2 separate regions of the Homo sapiens genome follow, and region 1 is linked to region 2. Evidence: promoter capture Hi-C in human tissues and cell types (Jung and others, 2019). All regions are on one chromosome and are shown on one strand. Each heading gives the region's core, a stretch centred on a gene start or on the middle of the fragment in contact. The rest is flanking DNA. Distances are from core to core; before and after follow the strand shown. Region 1 overlaps UBE2F (ubiquitin conjugating enzyme E2 F (putative)). Region 2 holds the start of PER2 (period circadian regulator 2).

Region 1 (2,803 bases), core at 83-2,582, 300 kb before region 2:
GAGGATGTCTGTGGGTAATGGTGAAATATTTTATAAGTGGGTCTGCTGGTTTGGGTGAGTGCTAGAGAGAACTTAGGATTGGATGTGGAGATATCTCTGACATGGGGCAGGACAGGGCCCATTCCAGCCTCCATCTGAAGTAGGAAAGATAATGGTGGATTGCAACCTCTCCATGGTTGTGAAATCAGTTTGAGAGGGTAAGTATGTAATGTTTCTTAAAAAATTATTATTATTTTCAAGACAGAGGCTCACTCTGTCGCCCAGGCTGGAGTGCAGTGGTGAGATCTCGGTTCACTGCAACCTCTGCCTCCTAGGTTCAAGTGATTCTTGCGCCTCAGCCTCCCGAGTAGCTGGGACCACAGGCATGCACCACCACGCCAGGCTAATTTTTGTATTTTTAGCAGAGATGGGTTTTTGCCTTGTTGGGCAGGCTGGTCTCAAACTCTTGGGCTCAAGTGATCCTTCTGCCTCAGCCTCCCAAAGTGCTGGGATTACAGGCGTGAGCCACTGCGCCCAGCCAAAAGATTATTTTCAGCATATAGAATTTATGGGTAGGTATCGTGAGTTGTGATATAAAATATGTTTCTTACTGTGGATCTCAGTTGAAAGTGTTTTGAAAGACACTGGATTGCTTGACCTCAAAGTTTTCTTCAACTCGGAAATGAGGCAATATCTTGAGATTCTGTTAAAAGGTTATCTTTCTGGCTGGGTGCAGTGGCTCACGCCTATATTCCCAACACTTTGGGAGGCTGAAGCGAGTGGATCATTTGAGCTCAGGAGTTCGAGACCAGCTTGGTCAACATGATGAAACCCTGTCTCTACTAAAAGTGCAAATTTAGCCAGTTGTAGTGGTATGCACCTGTAATCCCAGCTGCTCGGGAGGCTGGGGCAAGAGAATTGCTTGAACCCAGGAGGCGGAGGTTGCGGTGAGCTGAGATTGTGCCACTGCACTCCTGGGCGATGGAGTGAGACTGTCTCAAAAAAAAAAAAAAAAAAAAAAGTTATCTTTCTACCCACTGAAGTATTTACAGATGAAGTAGTTTGCTTTAAAATGCTACAGGAAGACAAACAATAAACAAATAACTGTGGGGGGGCAGGATAGACAAGCAAAATTGGCAAAATGTTGAAGCTGGGGGATGGGTTCATTATACTCTTCTCTTTTATTAGGACATTTTCCTAATAAAAATAAAATAAAATAATCCCTCTGCTTTCCAGTCCCATCTTATCTTCCCACAGGCCCCCAACTTGAGCCTGTATATACATGTAAACCTTTTTTTTTTTTTTTAATAGACAGGGTCTCTCTTTGTTGCCCAAGTTGGAGTACAGTGGCATGAGTGTGGCTCACTGCAGTCTCAACCTCCTGGGCTCAAGTGATCTTCCCACCTCAGTCTCCTGAGCAGCTGAGACCTCAGACCTCAGGTGCATGCTACCACGCCTAGCTAATTTTTAAAAATTATTATTATTTTTTATACAAAAAATCAGCCAGGCATCATGGTGGGCGCCTGTAGTCCCAGCTACTCGGGAGGCTGAGGCAGGAGAATGGCATGAACCCAGGAGGCGGAGCTTGCAGTGAGCCGAGATAGCACCAGTGCACTCCAACCTGGGCGACAGAGTGAGACTCTGTCTCAAAAAAAAAATAATAATAAAATTATTATTATTTTTTTGTAGAGATGGAGTCTCCTGTGTTGCCCAGGCTGATCTCAAACTCCTGGGCTCAAGTGATCCTCCCACCTTGGCCTCCTAAAGAGCTGAGATGACAGGCACGAGCCACTGTGCATGGCCAACACATGTAGACATTTAATCAAAACCACAGAAAAGGTCCCACTTATAAATGGTTCATTCATCCTTGATACATATCTTACAGAGATTGTTGGTTTTTAACCCATAGAGTGTACTTTAAAAACAAGAAAATTTTATGACTGGCTTTCAAATCAGGATTGTAACTGCATACCTTAGGTTTGAAAGAAGTATGGCACATCTCCTAGCCCTATAGCTATGGTGTCAGATAAAAAGACAGCATGCTCCCTGCCCCTTCTTTCATTCTTTCTCCCTACCTTCTCTCCTAATCGAAGAGGGGGAAATTATATCATTTTATTCAAGTAAGCCATGCTTTCCAAAAGTATGTCTCATTATGCTAAAGAGAAAACAAGAAACCACCAATGAATAACCCTTTACTATCTATTTAATTATCTTTCTAAAATATTTACAAAGGCAAACAAAATAACTTGCCTTGTATCAGTACCACTTAGTAACTATTCGGAACTAGTTTGGAGCTCTGCACATGCAAGTTTTTAGCGGTTTCTCTGCAAAAAAATTTAAAATGTTTCTTTCAGATAGACTGAAATATTAGAGGCTCAGATAGTGCATGCCTACATGTAGATAAAAAGCTTAATTCTGGTGCATTGAACTGGAACAAAAACCTGTTAAATTTTTTTTTTTTTTTAGAACTTAACCTTTCTTTTCTTTTCTTTCTTTCTTTTTTTTTTTTTGAGACAGTCTTGCTCTGTCACCCAGGCTGGAATGCAGTGGCGCGATCTCGGCTCACTGCGACCTCCACTTCCTGGATTCAAGTGACTTTCCTGCCTCAGCCTCCTGAGTAGCTGGGATTACAGGTGCCCGCCACCACGCCTAGCCAATTTTTGTATTTTTAGTGGAGATGGGGTTTTGCCAGGATTACAGGCGTGAGCCGCTGCGCCTGGCATAGTTTTATTGCTTTGTAATCCACTTTGATAATTTCTTTTTTTTTTTTTGAGACAGAGTCACGTTCTTTCACCCAGGCTGAAGTGAAGTGGCACGATCTCAG
Region 2 (2,934 bases), core at 311-2,810:
CCCTCCAAACAAACAAGGAAACTGAGGCCCAGACTGGGAGCCAGCAGCAGCCAGCTGGCTGACACAGGGCTCCCCCTTCCCACCTGGCACTCCAGTCTCCACAGAAAGCCAGGGCTGCGTTAGTTCTGTACCAATGAATCATACCAAGGCGACAGTGACAGATAACTGCAAACACCCACGGTGCCATCCCCGCGCTGGCACACCACACAGCTTCCACTCAAAAAAAACGGAGTCCCTTTCTTCATTATAGTCATATAGCACACAAAAATCAATTCACCTTGTATTTTAAAACTCAATTTCCAAATAAAGCCTTCAGGTAGAGTCCTGTTTTCTTCTCAGGCACACCCAGCCTGGGACCAGAAGCCCCAGGTGGGGGTAGAGGGTGGGCCAAGAAGTCTAGCAGTCCTGCTGTGCCATATACAGGTGAGAGGCGTCCATGTGGGGCTTTAGCCACCGTGTGGGGTTCTTAACACATTTCCCGGACTTAAGGCCCTTCCTCCCAAATTCCAGCCCACCCAGGATTCAGCACGCAAGTGGAGGCCATCACTGAACCTCTGAAGCTCATCCTGCCCCAGGACGATGGGAAGATCCTGCAGACAGCCTGGGCCTGGGCCTCAGTTTGCTCATCTGTCAGGCTGAGGGGTTACTCTGGGTGATTTTCAGGGTGCCTTCTGGCTCTGTTGTTCTGTATGAATCAGCTTTCCAAACGGGTTCCTTCTGTGTAGGTTACAGAAACCCTGGCAACCAACTCGTCATCCCTTACCCTGGCCTTCCTGAAGGGGGAAGCAGGCCACCTCCCACCCCCTGGTCTATGTCTGGGACTTGGCAGCCAAAGTACATCCCAGAAGGTAGGCGCGACTGCTGCACCAAAGAGTGGACACCCCCATTCCCTTCTATCCAGTCCGGGGAAAGGGAATTAATACAGGGTGGTCCAGGGGAGGCAAAGGGGCGAACATTAGAGGGTCTCCCCGCCCTCAGGTTCCCAGGCCTGGCTTGGCACCGGGACTTCCTTGTCCCTCTGATCACCCATTCCAGGAGACCCGTGGGTGTCCAGGAAAAGCTCCTAGATCAGCGCCCCTCCATGGCCCTTCCCCAGCCCAGGACTTAGCCCTGTGGCCTCAGAAGAGGCAGTCAGCTCCCCGAGGGTCCTCCAGATCCCAGGGCCGGCTGCGCTGACCCTTGGTTTCCTTGGCCTTCCCCATGCGAGGGGAGGGAGGGTTCCCAAAAGAGAATCGCCCACGGAACCGCAGCCCGCGCGCAGTCACTCGGTAGCTCGGTGCCCTACACACGCTGCCTCACCTTTCGGACCTCAGGCTCCTGAGCTGCGAAGCGGGGGTTCGAGTCCCCAACCCTCGGTGTCACCGCAGTTCAAACGAGCGCACCCTGCGCGCGGCTCGACCACTCTCCACCTGGGACAGGGCCAAGGGCACACGCCCCCACGCCGGCGCCGTTTCAAGCCGAGGAGTCCAGCAGCCCAAGGAACTTCCGGCGGCGCCTCCGCTGCCCGAGCCGGCGCTGGGACCCCGACCTGCCCGAGGCCCGCGCGCCGGCGGCGGTTACGTAAGCCGCAGCGGGGCCGCGCCGCGCCACTTACCGCCGGCCGCGCCCGCGTCAGCCCGTCCGCCGGTCCCTCCGCCGACTCGCGGCTCTGTCCGCCCGGCCCCGCGCCCGCCGCCGCCGCCCACAGCTGCACGTATCCCCTCAGCGCCGCCGCCTCCGCCGCGGCCGAGTCGCCGCTGTCACATAGTGGAAAACGTGACCGCGCGCGCCGCGCCCGCCCCCGGCCTCCGCCATTGGCCGCGACTCCGTCTCATCTGCATACATGAGGGGCGGGGCCTACGAACGCCGCGCGCCCATTGGTGGCCGCGCCCGTCGCTCTTTTTACATAAGACGCACATGGAACTCCATGTTCACCTCGTCGGTTCCTCAATGGAGACGCGGCGCGTTCGTGCTACCCGTCGTCCTCCCTAGTGGTCTCATCCACTTCCGGCGTCGGCGCCTTCCATTCACTACGCCCTCAAGCCCGCCAGCTCGGGGAGCGCGGAGTGGCGCGTACCATTGCGGGCGGGGGAGCTGGGCGCGGGGCTCCTGCGCACCTCCGGCCGGCCTGGCAGACCCGGCGCGCCGAAGCCGGACGAGGGAGACCTCCACCTCCGGCCACCGGCCAGAGGCGCGCCCCCAGCGGCCAGGGCCGCGGGAAAGTCCGCGCGGCATGCTTCATTCACGCATTCACATTCATTCATTTACTCATTCACTCACTCATTCATCGCGGGGCCCCGGAGCAGCCCAGGAGAAGGTGGCAGCACCGCCCTGCAGCAGCTCCGGGGGCACGCCCACCCGGGCCTCTGAGGTGCCTGTGGTCGACACTTGTCCCGGCAGCTACCAAGTGACCTTTCTTATTTTTGAGACCACGTGTTGCAATTTTTGGTTCAGGAAATAGAGTCATTGTTACTCTGGGGAGGTACAAAAGAAAGAAATGATGTTGTCCCTGCCCCCAAGCGCATCACTAGGGAGAAAGGACTATCTCATAAAAAGGAAACTTAATCAAATGCTAAATTGGGCGATGTGGGCTATAAATTAACCAGAGCTATCCCCACAGGCTCCGTGAGAAAGGCAGCACTTCCAAGGCGGGTAAGATGGGCCCTGAGAAAGGGACGCCTTACAACGGTGCAAGCCGTAGAGACGCAGGAGCCAGGGGTAGGAGGTTGTCCTGGGAGACAGCGCGGGACCCTGCATCACCTTGTTTCGGTAAGCATTGTGTGGGGCATGTGGAGCCTCTAAACTTCCATTTAAAGTGTCAGGAGAAAGAGTACAATTTCCCCGGGTCTGGGTAGAAGCCTGAGACTTACAGGACAGGAAGGAGCTTTCAGGCTCCCACGCAGCAGGCTCTGAATGTGTAGGCTCTCATGGGGAAGGCGAGACTGTCCAAGAAGC

What was found. Contacts are between HindIII fragments. The study calls those that stand out against the background at their distance.
Region 1: a contact is called between a fragment that was not itself captured here and the fragment with the promoter of PER2 in region 2, in 2 of the 25 tissues and cell types used here (hippocampus and pancreas).

The regions. Positions count from the first base shown.
Region 1 is chr2:237,989,134-237,991,936 of GRCh38, forward strand. The region is part of intron 3 of UBE2F (ubiquitin conjugating enzyme E2 F (putative)); the gene reads left to right. The region is part of intron 3 of UBE2F-SCLY (UBE2F-SCLY readthrough (NMD candidate)); the gene reads left to right. Among named protein-coding and RNA genes, the nearest start is that of UBE2F, 24 kb to the left of the region's middle. The HindIII fragment of the contact is 5,368 bases long and covers 1-2,803 here.
Region 2 is chr2:238,287,050-238,289,983 of GRCh38, forward strand. It overlaps PER2 (period circadian regulator 2), which reads right to left and starts at 1,561. Exons shown (of 23, transcript NM_022817.3): 1 at 1,300-1,561. It overlaps LOC112268433 (a long non-coding RNA gene), which reads left to right and starts at 820. Exons shown (of 3, transcript XR_002959458.2): 1 at 820-848. RefSeq lists enhancers at 499-1,021, 1,106-2,000 and silencers at 1,549-1,698, 2,039-2,308. The HindIII fragment of the contact is 9,111 bases long and covers 1-2,934 here.